2 separate regions of the Homo sapiens genome follow, and region 2 is linked to region 1. The links are contacts of gene promoters, found by promoter capture Hi-C in blood cells and fetal thymus (Javierre and others, 2016). All regions are on one chromosome and are shown on one strand. The core of a region is centred on a gene start or on the middle of the fragment in contact, and the rest is flanking DNA. Distances in the headings are between cores, read along the strand shown.

Evidence for each region. The method cuts DNA at HindIII sites, captures the fragments that hold promoters and counts their contacts. A CHiCAGO score of 5 or more calls a contact.
Region 2: a contact is called between a fragment that was not itself captured here and the fragment with the promoter of RPL38 in region 1, in 4 of 17 cell types (total CD8 T cells, total CD4 T cells, naive CD4 T cells and 1 more). The highest score is 7.3, in total CD8 T cells.

What each region holds. Positions count from the first base shown.
Region 1 is chr17:74,200,760-74,208,199 of GRCh38, reverse strand. It overlaps RPL38 (ribosomal protein L38), which reads right to left and starts at 4,522. Exons shown (of 5, transcript NM_000999.4): 1 at 4,455-4,522; 2 at 4,242-4,282; 3 at 4,010-4,070. The coding sequence starts at 4,244. RefSeq lists enhancers at 2,766-3,269, 3,270-3,774, 4,783-5,286. The HindIII fragment of the contact is 15,941 bases long and covers 1-7,440 here.
Region 2 is chr17:74,345,737-74,353,176 of GRCh38, reverse strand. KIF19 (kinesin family member 19) reads right to left here. Exons shown (of 20, transcript NM_153209.4): 8 at 6,653-6,799; 9 at 5,278-5,400; 10 at 3,828-3,993; 11 at 2,602-2,776; 12 at 2,272-2,470; 13 at 1,040-1,310; 14 at 837-958; 15 at 223-356. Among named protein-coding and RNA genes, the nearest start is that of BTBD17, 12 kb to the left of the region's middle. RefSeq lists an enhancer at 397-927. The HindIII fragment of the contact is 1,511 bases long and covers 3,430-4,940 here.

The DNA.
Region 1 (7,440 bases), core at 3,273-5,772:
ACTCCCAGGATTTGTTATAATAGCAGTGATGTGCCAATCAAGAAGCAGGTGGCTGAGGGCTGAACATGGGCTCTAACACTTCAACGAAAGCACCTGGCCAGACACAGCACACAGCACTTAACCTGGCAGACGCACACAAGATGATCTTGTCCTAGCAATTCGGCAACTCCATTTCTGCCAGTAACTACTATAGGAATGGGGCACATCAGAGGAAGCAGCACTGTGACTCAGAGCCTGCCCAAGGCACGGGCTGCCTGGACTCTCGTTCTTAATACATCCAGACACCTGGATATTCATCCAAACTAACCTATTTCAGTATAACACTGCCCCTAGCAGCTGAACTAAGCTGAACACCACTTGTAAAGACATATGGAGCTCTTCAAAATGTTTATTCAGTTGGGTGCGGTGGTTCACGCCTGTAATCCCAGCACTTTGGGAGGCTGAGGTGGGTGGATCACCTGAGGTCGGGAGTTCGAGACCAGCCTGACCAACATGGAGAAACCCCGTCTCTCCTAAAAATACAAAAATTAGCCAGGCGCCTGTAATCCCAGCTACTCAGGAGGCTGAGGCAGGAGAACATGGGAGGCAGAGTTTGCAGTGAGCCAAAATTCCGCCACTGTACTCCAGCCTGGGCAACAAGAGCGAAACTCCATCTCAAAAAAAAAATAAATAAAAAAAAAGTTTACTCAACATTGCCATATGTGCAGCAATTCCATTTCTAGGTATATACCCCAAAGAACAGATAGCAACCACAGAAGAATATTTGCACACACATGTTCAGAGCATTATTCACACTAGCGAAAATGTAGAAGCAACCCAATGTCCATCAATAGACGAATAAACAAACCGTGGCCTACCCACACAATGGAAAACTCGGCCTTCAAAAGAAAACTCCGGTCTGGGTGTGGTGGCTCCTGCCTGTAATCTCAGCACTTTGGGAGGCTAAGGTGGGAGGACTGCTTGAGGCCAGGAGTTGGAGACTAGCCTGGCCAACACAGATCCATCTCTAAAACACCAAAAATTAGCCAGGTGTGGTGGCGCATGCCTGTAGTCCCAGAGACTCTGGAGGCTAAGGTGGGAGGATCACTTGCGCCCAGGAGATCAAGGATGTAGTGAGCCATGATCACACCACTGCACTCCAGCCTGGGCAGGAGTGAGACCCTGTTTAAAAAAAGCAAATTGCAGGCCGGGCACAGTGGCTCACGCCTGTAATCCCAGCACTTTGGGAGGCCAAGGCAGGTGGATCATGAGGTCAGGAGATAGAGACCATCCTGGCTCACTCGGTGAAACCCCGTCTCTACTTTAAAAAAAAAAAAAAAATTAGCCCGGCATGGTGACAGGCGCCTGTAGTCCCAGCTACTTGGGAGGCTGAGGCAGGAGAATGGCATGAACCTGGGAGGCGGAGCTTGCAGTGAGCTGAGATTCCGCCACTGCTCTCCAGTCTGGGCAACAGAGTGACATTCCATGTCAAAAAAAAAAAAAAAAAAAAAAGAAAGAAAAAACAGAAGGCAATTCTGACACATGCTTGAGGACATGTGAAGAGAAGCCAGTCACAAAAGGTCAAATATGCAATAGCAGACCCACTTGTATGGGGTATCCAGAGCAGTCACATTCAGGGACAAATTGGAAGGTGGTTGCCAGGGGCTGGGGAAGAATGGGGAGCTGGTGTTTAACAGAGGGAGTTTCAGTTTGGGAAGATAAAGTTCTGGAGATGGGCGGTGATGGTGGCAGCTGCTCAACAATGTGTATTTACTGAATGCCACTGAACTGTACAATTATGCTTTGTTGCCCAGCCCGGAGTGCAGTAGCATAATCGTGGCTCACTATAGCCTCAATTTCCTGGATTCAAGCAATCCTACCTCAGCCTCCTGAGTAGCTAGGACCACCAGCACACGCCCGGCTAACTTTTTTCTTTTATAGAGACAGGGTCTCACTATGATGCCCAGGCTAGTCTCATCCATCTGCCTCAGTCTCCCAAAGTGCTGGGATTACAGATGGGAACCACCATACCCAGTGTAAATGGTAACTTTTACGCTATGCCTATTACACGTTAAAAATTAATACAACCATTTTAAAAAGTTTTTTCAACAAACAGCTACTGACACTTTACTGTCCCCAGGGGACTGTGACCACTACCTTTAAAGCCACATCATCTAAAATGAAGGTTCCCAATTTTTTTTGTGAGACAGTCTCGCTCTGTCACCCAGGCTGGAGTGCAGTGAGACAATCTCAGCTCACTGCAACCTCCGTCTCCTTGGTTCAACTGATTCTCCTGCCTCAGCCTCCTGAGTAGCTGGGACTGCAGGCGTGTGCCACCATGCCTGGCTAATTTTTTTATTTTTAGTAGAAATGGGGTTTTGCCATGTCGCCCAGGTTGGTCTTGAACTCCTGGTTCAAGCGATCTGTCCGCTTTGGCCTCCCAAAGTGCTGGAATTATAGGCATGAGCCACCACGCCCGGACCACCACCCTTTTAAAACACAATCAAACGGTGGTGTCGTGTTTAACTTGCTGAGAAGGGTAAGTTACCTGCAGGTAGAGTTGGGCTTCAAACTAGGCAGTGACCCCATATGGTCTGAAATAAAACTGACCTGATAACCTCATCTCTTTACACAAAACACTAGCCAACAGTCATCATTCCCACCAGATGCTATTTGTCCCCACAGGTGGTCACTACCTCAAAGGTGACAGCCTGTTTTGGGTAATGGGGACACAAATATGACCCCCATCTCTGCCTACCCCCAACTCATTGAAAGACTCTCCCTGTACACCAACCACCGTCTGGCACCACGGCTGGCAGAGCATTAGAGACGGCTGGTGTCTTAGCCCACCTTAACAGGCCTGTCCCATGCAACCTCACTTCCACATGTGACCTGATTCTCAGTCAGCTGAAAAAAGATGACTGGGTTAAAGTAACAACATAACTCAAGACCTAGCTTGTATCAAACACAAGCCCCCCCAATCTCCTTCAAGTATCACAAAGGAGTAACACAACTACCTCTCACACTTGGTGTAAAAATTTAAGTAAGTGGGCAGCAGAGATTGGCACCTATCCATCGAAAACCTGCTGTTTAAGGTTTTTCATTAATCACCTTCTTTCCCCTGTATGTACAAGCTGGGAAACAGACCTATGACAGTCCAACTTAAACTCTGTGACTTTACAATGGTGGTAATGCGATATACATTCAGTAGAAGCCCTGCTTCAAATTTTGATCTTGGCGGGGCACAGTGGCTCACACCTGTAATCCCAGCACTCTGGGAGGCGGAGGCAGGTGGATCATCTGAGGTTAGGAGTTCGAGACCAGCCTGGCCAACATGGTGAAACTCTGTCTCTACCAAAAACACAAAAATCAGCTAGGCATGGTGGCGCGCCCAGCTACTTTGAGGCAGGGGGATCGCTTGAACCTGGGAGGCGGTAATTGCAGTGAGCCAAGATCGCACCACTGCAATCCAGCCTGGGCGACAGAGCCAGACTGTCTCAAAGAAAAAAAAAAATTTTTTTAAATATTTTTCTGGATTAGATAGGTATGATACCTTCTGACACTGGCCAGCGACCACAGGATCACGAGGTAAACGACCATACTACACAGTGTGCCGTGCTCGATACATTACATGCAAATATCCAGCACTTTATTACAAAATGGATTTTGTGTTAAGATTTTGCACAACTGCAGAGAACCTAAACAGTGTTTATGGGACGTGTGTTTTGAGGCTTTCGCGGAGTGGAGATTCCGTTCCGACAATTTACTATATTATACGAAAGAAAACTGAACTCAGGGCGGCCTCTGAGATGATCGCGATTAGCTAAAGATGGTCCTAGAAATTCCAGGGCCTCAACGTGCCCCCCACAGGTCTTTCTCATGGGAAACAGGATGAAACCACTGCTCCCAGAGGGCCAGGCACACACCCAGACGGCCTAACCGTCTCCTGCCTGACATTCCGGGGAAGACGCTCCCGGAGCGGTGCCAGGCTAGGCACCGCTCTTCTTGAACCTTCGGAGCAACCACTTACATTTGGCATCCTTTCGTCGGGCTGTGAGCAGGAAGTCCTTGATTTCCTCAATTTTCCGAGGCTGCAACACAAAGGAAGCGGGTGAACAGAGAGGAAAGAGACACGTCTCCCGGCGATGGCCCAGTCCACCAGCTTCTCCCGGCCTCAGGAGATCCTTGGGAGGCTCTCTCGCCCTCGCCCCGGGGCCCCACGAGCCCACCCCGGGAAGGCGCCAGGCAGGGACTGTACTCACCATGGCGACGAGGCGCGCTGGGCTCTGGCGCGGACCAGGACCTGCGGGAAACAGTCCTCGGCGTTAACACGGCGCGGGGGCTGGCAGCGAACCCCGTTTTCCCGCTCTCCCCCGAAATATCGGCCCCATCGCACTCCCCTTCTCCTCCCCGACACCCTCCACGCGGACCTGGGGTCCCCAGATTTCACCTGGCAGTGGATTGCCCCAGATTACCTTTCTCACCCACGTATCACCCTAGAGACACTCACAGCAAGCAGCAACCGGGGAAAAGGACGAAAAAGAACGAGACTTCCGTTTCCGGGCAGTTAAACCCTCCCAACGGAGGAAACTGGGTACGGTGCCTGCCGAGGATCAAGACTCATGTAGGCGTTCGCACTTCCAATTTCAGCAGCCCTGCCCCCTTGTGGTCGAAGTCAACAGTGCAGCTCCAAGAATGGAATGGACCATCCTGGCTGCCGCCCTCCCTCCGCCTCCCTCCTCTCGCTCCTCCCCATCCCTTCCTCCTAGGACCCCCGCCTCTTCCCCGTCCACCCCTTCCTGTCTTCCCCCGCAACCCCTCAGACCCCAGCCTGGCTTTGCTAGGTTTTAGCTCAGATTCAGTTTGAAGAGCTAACGCTTATTCTCCACGGCTTTCATTGGACCTGCGCAGGGGCATCCACACAGAAAATTCTTCATTCAATGGCAGGGACCCTCGTGTGCACCTTGTAGAACCTGTTGTTCTGGCGCCTCACGTTTTCTTCCCGTCTCCTTTTTGGCACCTGAACCTGTCATGACCAGGGCCCTGGGCTCTTCTTTCCATAAGAGGGAGCGTTCCTGCTTGCTGCTTCCAATTCCCTTAGGAATTGGTGTACAATGAAAGCAAGTTAAGGCCGGGCGCGGTGGCTCACGCTTATAACCCCAGCACTGGGGGAGGCCGAGGCAGGCGGATCGCTTGAGGCCAGGAGTTCGAGAGCAGCCTGGGCAACCTAGTAAGACCTCCCCCCCCCCATCTCTAGCAATAATGATAATAATAATAATACTTCCAAAAGCTGTCGCAGCGCTGCCCCTGGCTAAGTGTCTCACCCCTAGGGCTGATGGTGAGTGGGAGTGCTCCTGCTCTTGCGGGGTCTCACCGCGGCCCCAGAGGGGAGAGGTGGACTCAGGAGTTGAACCCCTGCTGGGCAGATTCCCCAGCCCAGGCTCCGGCCACTTCCTGGGGAGGCTTGGGAAGCCTGGGGAGGGCAGCGTTCCTTTCTCCCCCTAACATCCTTTAGGTTAGACTCTGAGCAACCTGCGGTTATCGATTTTATTTTTATCCTCCATTTTTATTTTATCTCCAACCTCCCTACAAATGTCTACATTTTATTATATTTGTTTCCCCAAAATTTAATAACCACACGGCAGAATGTAATTGCTTCGTGCTTATTATTACAGAGCGGCCCTCCTGAAGGGAAAGAACACTTTGCCATGAGCTTTACTTAGAACTTATTTAACTTAACCTTCCTTTCTTCCTCCCTCCTGCCCTTCCATTAACAAGCTCAGGCTGAGCACCTTCCTGGGGGTGCTGGAGATACAGGAACCAATAGACCTTGCTGCAGAGAGATCACAAAAATATTGTAATAACACTGAAGAGTCTTTTAAAGAAGCTGAACGATGTCTCTGCAACTGTAAATGTGTCGGGGTTCTAGCAGTGGGAAAAGTTAATTGGCAGAAGCCTAATTTTAGATGTCTGAAGGTCGGATCCGATCTGAGAAGCACGAGTGCTTCAGCTCTGACCTGAGAAGGATTTTCCCATACCTCAGAGCCCGGCTTTGCCAGCCCTTCCCATCTCAGGCGATGCCTTTCTGGTCTTTTCTACCCCACTGCTCCTCCACAAGCAACCACCCTTTCAGCCAAGCCGAGGGGCACTTTTGGGCACTTTCTGCCCTCCAGGTATTTGCTCTGCTGTCCACTCTGATGCCAAGTGCCACTGGTCCTTCCGAGCTCAGCTCCCGCCTCCCCTTTTTCAGGCAGGACCCTTCACCCTTGACTTATGTTGCTTGCCGCTCATACAGTGGTTCCTTGCAATCACTTCTCCGTAGGCTGCGTGGAGGTGTTTAACTTTTCATACATGCGCACCACTCTTTTTATTTTTAATTTTTTAAAACTTTTTTAGAGACATGGTCTCCCTAGGTTGCCCAAGCTGGTTTCGAACTCCTGGGCTCAAGGGATCCTCCTGCCTCGGCCCCCCAAAGTGCTAGGATAACAGGTGTGAGCCACTACGCCCCACCTTACCACTTTTCCTTGAAGGCAAGGACAGGGCTCAGCATTCTGTCGATAACTCTCGAAGTGCAGTACCCATCTGTACAGTAAGTGCTCAATGCTAACATTGCAGGATGATCCGGCTGGATGCGGCATCTGAGATCACTCACCATATAAAGGGGTGGTGGATGGAGGGAGGAATTCAGGGAGAGCCAGAAGGAGACACTGACGTGCCTGAAGCAGTGCCTGGCATGTAGTAGGTCCAAAAACTATTTGTTGAATGAATGACTGGTGCTTCTTGCCTCACTGCCGGCCCGACAGGACAAGGACGGGGATAGAAGGAGGAGCTGCACCTCCCTTTTGGCAGCGATCCCAGGGAGACAGATGTTCACCCTCTTGAGTTGTATAATTTAAGGGACCATAGACGTGTAGTAGCAAAACACAATGGCAAATTTGTTCAAGTACCAAAGACCTCCAGCTCCCCAAGGGGGACAAATAGCAAAATAAGCTGCAGCTACTAAAAGTGAGGCAAGGTGCCCAGAGGGCACGCTTCCCTGCTCCATGGGAAGATGAGCCCCAAATGTCCTGGAGTGGCCGGGGACTGTCAGAGACCAAGGGGGGCAGAGCCTAGGCCCTGAGTGCCACAGCCTGAGACCTTGAGCAGATGCTGACCTGGACATGAGCCTCCCTGATGACTCCCATATACACATGAAACAAAACTCTCCAGGGCCTAGGGTGGATCCTGCAGGAGAGGAAAGCCCCGGACTCGAGGGCAGGATGGCCCAGGCTGCCTGTTATGGTCGCTCTGGCCATTGGTAGGCTGGAATGTCCAGTGCTGGCAGCTGTGGGATGGTGAGGGCTATTGCTGTTGTCAAGAGGCGGTAGGGAGGGTCTCAAGCAGTGTGTTGCAGCATGGCTGGAGGCAGGAGAGGCTCAGAGGGCATGTCCGGAGCTACAGGACACAATCCAACCCTTTTCC
Region 2 (7,440 bases), core at 2,936-5,435, 150 kb before region 1:
ATGAGTGGCTGTAGACCAGGCTATCTCACCGAGGTCCCACCCCCACCCCAGGGGAGAAGCTGTTGGTGTGAAAGGAGAGAGAACCCAGGAGTCCTGGCTCCAGACCTGGGCCACCTGCTCCCTCTCATTGCTGCTCTGTGTTCCCCATTTAGCCTTAGTCTGGGTTGGCCTCTCTGGGACAGGGCACAGGGTGGGGGCTGGGGCAGGTGGCCCCCATCTCACCTCTCTGTGCTGAGGGGAGGGAGGGCGCTGTTCTGCAGGTGCTGGGCATCAGAGCTCAATGTCTTCACACTCTCCAGGTCAGAATCTGGGGTCAGTGAGGTTCCTGCTGGGGTAATTTTGGGCAAGGAGCTGTCCTGGGGAGGAGGGAGCCAGGGTGGACAGTTAGAAGATTTGGTCCTGGACCAAATCAGCACAGAGTCACAAAGGCTTACAGGGTGACAAGGGCTGTAAGATGGCCTGGGAGCCCCAGAAGGGCAGTGGGCTTGTGTTTGGGTCCTCGGGGTTAAGCTGTGGTCTGCTAGGCTTCCCCAGTGGCACTGCCTGATGCTTGGTCTCCTGGGAGGGCAGCTGGAGCCATTTGTGATATCTCAGATGGCCAGCCCTGACCCTCAGACCCTGGGTGGGAGCAAGTGATGCCCAGGAGTGCCCAAGGAGGAGGGTCTTACTCAGGCTTGACAAGGCTTTGGGTGGGGTAAGAAGGAAAGGGAGTCAACTCCCTGGGGTGCCAGCCAGCCTGGTCCTGTCCCCTCCAGCTGCCTGAAGGCATTGCCTTGGTCATCAGCCCCTCCCTGGGCACATGTGCCCATGTTCAGGCCGCCCAGGCGCCCACCCACCTGCAGGGCCCTGGAGGCCACTTGGTCCATGATGGTGGCCTGCTCCAGGCTGCCCTCCTCCAGCTCCCGCAGGTACACTTCGTAGAGCTCTTCCAGGCGCTGCGGGACGGCCAGGTTGTAGTCTGCTGGGGAAGGGGCAGGGCTCAGTGAGTGCCAGCGGCCCCCCCGCGGGTGGCTCAGATGCGCGGGGGCGTGGGCCCTACCGTCGATGATCTGCCGCTGGCCCTGGATAATCTCGTCGCAGAGACTGCGGTGCTGCTCCAGGCGGCGCACGGCCTCGTGGCGGTGGCGGAGCGCACCGTCGCGGAGCAGCGCGTGCGACTGCATCTCGGTGTTCTCCACCTCGAGCTCGTGCACGCGGCACAGCAGGCTGAGCACCTCGCGCTGCTCCTCGGAGCCGATGCGCCGCGGCAGCGTCTCCTCCAGGCGCCGGCCCCGCGCGCGCAGCTCCCGGCAGCGCTGCTCCAGCGCCAGCTGCAGGAGGCGCAGGTCAGCATCTGGCAGCGGGGAGAGGGGTCCGATCCGCCTGCCCAGCTCGTCCTCGACCCTCCAGCGCCTGGACTCCAGGCATCTGTCTGGAGCTCCAGCCTGAGGCCAACCCTAAAAGCTGAATCTTGGGCCTTACAATCAGGGACTGCTCCAAGGTGGCCCCTCAGTGTCCACTTTCTTGCTATCCTGACCGCAAACCACCCCTGGAACCAGCTTGGGGGATAACTGCTCAACCCCAGCCCATGTGACCCCCTCAGGGCTCATGATACCCTAAAGCCCCTTTGGTCTGGGTATGTCCCAGAACAGAAGGCAAAGATCTGTTATTGGGAAAACCCTAATTATTATTATTATTTTTCTTTTTTGAGACAGGATCTCTCTCTGTCACCCAGGCTGGAGTGCGGTGGCGCTATCCCGGCTCCCTGCAACCTCTGCAGGGTTGCAAGTGATTCTTATTCCTCTGCCATCCGAGTAGCTGGGATTACAGGCGTGAGCCACCACACTAGGCTTTTTTTTTTTTTTTTTTGTATTTTTAGTAAAGACGGGATTTCGCCATGTTGGCCAGGCTGGTCTCGAACTCCTGGCCTCAAGTGATCTGCCTACCTCAACTTCCCAACGTGCTGAGATTACAGGTGTGAGTCACTGTGCCCAGCCTGAAAAACCCTAATTATAACATTAGTTACCATTTTTTGAGTCCTTGGTATGTGCCAGGCATTTATGTAATCTTCCCAGCAACCCCATGAGGGCTGCACCATGGACTGCTCCCATTTTACAGGTGGGGAATGTGACGCATAGAGAAGTTAAAGAGCTTAGCAAAGTCACACAGGATTTGTGGCCTGAGTTCCCAAGTCTCACGGCTACCCCCACCCTGGCCCCTCCGCCTTGCCTCTCAAACCTGCTCACCCTGTCCCCTAAACCCACTCTCCTTGTCCCCCCAAACCCTGGACACCTTCTGCTTGCGCAGTTGCTTCTGCTCGTCCACCAGGGCTGCAATGCTCTCCCGGGCTGCGGCCACCTCGGGTGGCTCCAGGATGTCTGGTTGGTCATCACCTGTGTCTGAGTCCTTCTCGCTGTCGTCCTTAGCGTAGCACTCCTTTCGCTGCTCCTCCCGCCATTTGAGGGCCCGGCGGGACTTCTCATGCTTCCAGCTGCCGCAGCCCCACCCAGAGAGACAGGGCATTCAGGCCATGGGGGCAGGGCACACTGTACAGCCACAGGTCGTGCTCCTCTGTCCCAGGCACAGGGGTGGGGCCTGGAGGGTCCTGGGAGGGGGGCTTACCCGGCGATGGTGAGCAGGTGTCGGGAGGTGTCAATCTGGACCTCCATGGCGCGGTTCTCCAGCTCCAGCAGGCGCCTCCGCACATCCATCTGCTCCTGGAAGGCGCTGGCGAGCTGCTCCCGAAGCTGTCCCATGCCAGCCTTCTCACCCTGCCCGCTGTGCAGCTGGACCTCAGCTGCCGATGGGTGAGGGTGGGCAAGGTAGAGGAGGCGGCAAGTTCAGCTAGCAAAGCCTGGGCCCACCTGGGCCCCTCCCCTCCTTTTCTTCCCAACTCAGTGCTCCCACTTCCTGTCCAACTGCTTCCTCCAGGAAGACCCCCTAGATTACTACATCCTCCCAGACCCCACTCCCACATTGAGTCTTCAAGCTGTTGCCCAAAAGCAATTCCCAGCTCCTTGGTATGAACTGGGCTCCTGCTAACCCTTACAGCACCTCTGTGCCAACTATAAAAAGGTGCCCCTAGAAACTACCGTCTGTGGCCAGGCACAGTAGCTTACACCTGTAATCCCAGCACTTTGGGAGGCCTAGGCAGGCAGATCACCTGAGGTCGGGAGTTCGAGACCAGCCTGGCCAACATGGTGAAACCTCGTCTCTACTAAAAATACAAAAATTAGCCAGGTGTGGTGGCGGGCACCTGTAATCCCAGCTACTTGGGAGGCTGAGGCAGAAGAATCGCTTGAACCCGGGAGGCAGAGGTTGCAGTAAGCCTAGATCATGCCACTGCACTCCAGCCTGGGCAACAGAGCAAGACTCTGTCTCAAAAAAAAAAAAAAATCTTTACTGTCTGCCTCTCTCTTTATATTAGTAAATTTTTTTTTAAAAAAAGCTTTACTGTCTGTTGGAAAACCATCATAGCAAATATGCAGGTCTACAAGGAAACGGAGCCCATTCCGGGGGTGCAGGCATGACCTCGCAGCCCTACGCCACAGCCCTTAGTGTGCGCCCTGCGCAGCTCATTGCTCACGTGCCTCTCCCTCGTGGGATCCCACCTACTCTTCCAAGGTGGGGTTGGGAAATCGGCTTGTGATCTCTGGTAACTGTCTGAAGCAGAGATCACAACCCCATTTAACAGCTGAATGCTAGGAGGCTCAGAGCTGGTGAGTGCCTAGCTCAACCACCCAGCCAGAAAGAGCCCGATTCTGGATTTGAACACAACATGGCCTGATCCCAGAGCAACGTGAGGCTGGCCGGAGGGGGCTGCCACTCACACAGACCCACAGGCGCACCTTGGATGTGGCGGATGTCACCCCGATCCTGCCGGCCCCGGGCCTGGCCCCGCCCAGTCTGCTCATCAATCTTGCGCTTGAGTCGCTGGATCTCGCCCCGCAGGTCAGCGATGATGCTGGTGTACTGGGCGATGTGGTAGGAGACGTTCAGGAGGTTCTGCTTCACCTGCAGGGAACACGTATGGAGCGGAGGGGATGCAGTCACCCCAGGTGCACTCACCGAGGCCTGCCTGCAGGGCCTTTCTTCCCCCTGCCTCCCCCAGTCTTTCTGGGTGACAGTAATGGCCTCCTTTCCTCCACTTCCACAACCTCCTGTCACACTCACTGCTAGATCTCATCAACCTTCAGTGGCTTCCTAATGCCTGCGGGGAACGTCCTCATTCCTCCACCCGTTGTTGAAGGGCCACCCCCATCTCTCTGATTTTCTCTGGGCTCACCGCTCCTGCATGAACATCCCACTCCAGTTGAAGACCTGTCCTGCTCTCCCCATACCCACCACAGACGCCATCCCCTTCCTGCCTTTGGAACCTGTGCTCTCCCTGCTCCCACCTTTCTGGAATGTCCTCCCAGCCTTCAGGGTCCCACTCACAGTCTCCAGAGAGTTCCACTGGACCCCACCAGGCCACCCCCACCTCCTGTTCCTGTCTTGCCCCAGCACCTACCATTGGCATCATTTACCTGCTATTAGGAATATTCTGAACCATCAATGAGCTGTTTCAAGAATGTGTCTCCCGTCCCCCATTGAGGGGTTGGAATAAAACTTACAGCCCTCAGGGCAGCAGCTGGCAAGTGTTAGGTGTTGGGAGAATGTTCCCTACATGCTATCATACATGAATCCATTCCCACTCCTCCACACACGAACAGGTGGAAATGGATTTCTAAGCGGATGGCAAGGGTTCCGACATGCTTACAGACAGGTGAGGACACGGACTTGGAAACGGGGCAGATCTCATTTCCATCCTCAGCGCCATCACTGGCCAGCTGGGAAGTCACTTAACTTCCTTAAGCCTTGCTGTCCTAATCTGTACATGGGAACCGCAATAATACTGCTGTTTTTTGAGGATCAAAGGAGGTAGCATGTGAAACAGCTCAGAGCAAGTGCTCAATGAAGCTTGCCTCCTGTGATGACCATCATGAAGAGGTGCTTTGGAAATGCAAAGGTCTAAATGAGCATCTGAAGACGAGGAAGGGAAGAGAAGAGGGGATGAGGCAGGGGGAGCACAGTCCTGGGACTGGAGGAAGCGGGGACCCTTGGGAGCTGTCGGCTTCCCGGCAGAGGAGCAGGGTTTGGAGGTGCAGGGAAAGTGTACAGGTGACGATCAACTAGGGAATGAGGCCAGTGCAGCAGTGGCTGGTTCCAGAGAGTGCAGTGGGGTGGCAGGGATCAGCCCGGGGGCTTGAATCTCAGCCCAGGAAGGTGTGTCCTGGTGGACGGTCCAGGGGCCCTCACCCTAGTCTTAATGTTCTTGGCCCGGCCGGCGTAGGTCAGGGTGTTCCGGGACTCCTCGAAGGCACTGCTCGCAGGACTGATGTGAGCGATCATCACTGTGCGGCTGTTTCCTCCCAGAGAGTCCTGGATGGGAGGTGGCTGTGGTCAGTGGGGACTGCCTCCTCAGGCCTTCCTCCTGCCAGGCTGTTCACGATGCCCTCCCTGGCGAGTGCAATCTCTCTGTCTCTTTACACTTAAGGGACCCGGCTGCTGAGCGTCATATGGTGTGAGGCTTGGGAGGAAGAAAGCCCTGCTCCAGCAATTACCAGCTGTGTAACCTTAATAAAGCTCATTCACCTCTTTAGTTCTTTTTTTTTTTTTTTTGAGACAGGGTCTCGATCTGTCATCCAGGCTGGAGTGCAGTGGCGCTGTCTCAGCTCACTGCAACCTCCACCTCCCAGGTCCAAGCAATTCTCGTGCCTCAGCCTCTCGAGTAGCTGGGACTATAGGCGTCTGCCACCATGCCTGGGCAATTTTTGTATTTTTAGTAGAGATGGGGTTTCACCATGGTGGCCAGGCTTGTCTTGAACTCCTGACCTTAAGTGATCCACCTGCCTCGGCCTCCCAAAGTGCTGGGATTCCAGGCGTGAGCCACCACACCCGGCTTTCCTTGCTTTTTAAGGGGGCAGTCCTTTTGCAATTGTCCCCACCTCCCCGGCTTCTAGGTGCAGTCATGACGGCAGCTGCTGGCAATGTTAAGTAAGCGGTGACTCTGATATTAGATCAGGGAGGCCTCTGACTGGATCCTACTTTCAGCACTTACTAGTGTGAGCCCTTAGGAACATTACCTAACTGAGTTGTGCCTCAGTTTCCTCATCTGCAAATGTAATCCCTCAAACTCATAGAGTTGTTGACGAGATCTAAGGAGCTAATAGAGTGAAGTACTGAATTCAAGAGACCAGCCAGGAGTGGGCGCTCAGTGATGCTGCTATAATTTAAGGCCAAGGACACCCCTGCACAAAGGAGGCCACCCCCAAACAGCTGACCTGTGGGGCCATGAGGCTGACTGCCCACCTGCACCCCCAAATCTAGACGGCTCTGACCCACAGCCCTGGGTGGGGGTATCACGTGCTCCTTTTCCTTCCCATTGCCCAGCCTTTGGTTAGGGTCGTCAGATAAAATACAGGATACCCAGTTAAATTTGAATTTCAGATATGCAATTACTTTGTTTTAGCATAAGAATATCCCAAATATTTCATGGGACATATTTACGCTAAAATAAATTTTGCTGTGTATCCTGAGGTTGGAATTTAGCTGGGTGCCCTGTATTTTCATTTGTTTAATCTGGCAGCCTCACCCTTGGTGCCCAGTGCCCAGGCCCAGCTGTGGCTGGTACCTTCAGGAGCCGGGTGAGCTTGCTGTCGCGATAGTTGATGTACTTGTTGCTACCCTTGTCGCTCAGGGCGTTGATGCAGTTGCCCAGTGCCAGCAGTGAGCGGTTGATGTGGGCCCCCTCCTTCATACGCTGCCCACGATTCTGTGTCTAGGGGGCGAGCAAAGGGCACACGTGTGGCCTGATGAGGCAGGGGACTGGGTTTCTCCCCAGCCACCCCACCAATGAATGACCTGGTGATCCTGGGTAATAAACCCCCAAGGACCTTGTGGCCGTCCTCCTGCCAAGGCCACTGAGGGCATTGGAGAAGGTTAAGAGACCCAGAGGCCTCTGAACAAGAGTGATGGGCTGACAGCTTCTGAGGAGGGCTGAGATGGCCGGTTCTCCTCAGGGCAGGTGCCGTGGCACGGCCTGACACACAGTGCCATGGATGAGATGGGAGGGAGGTTGCTTTCCAGGCAGCTCAGCTGGGAGCCGGCAGGACCACTGGTGCTCCAGAGGGTGCTCCAGGGAGCAAGGAGGAAAGTGCGTGCACATGTGCATGGTGGTGGAGGGCAGGTTCTTCTCCTTTTCTTGGGCCTGCAGGAGCATGTCAAAGCCGAGGAGGCCCTGCCTGCAGCTCCCCTTAGGAGGTGGCTCTGCCCAGCCTGGAGAAGCCGGGACCAGCTCGCTCCAGTGGCTGAAGGGCACTCTCTCTCCTCCCAGGCCTCTCCCCTGTGTGCCTTCCAGGAAGCCCCCCAGGCTTTACTGGAAGGGAGGGGTAAGTTTCTTGAACCTGCCCTGTTCGGATC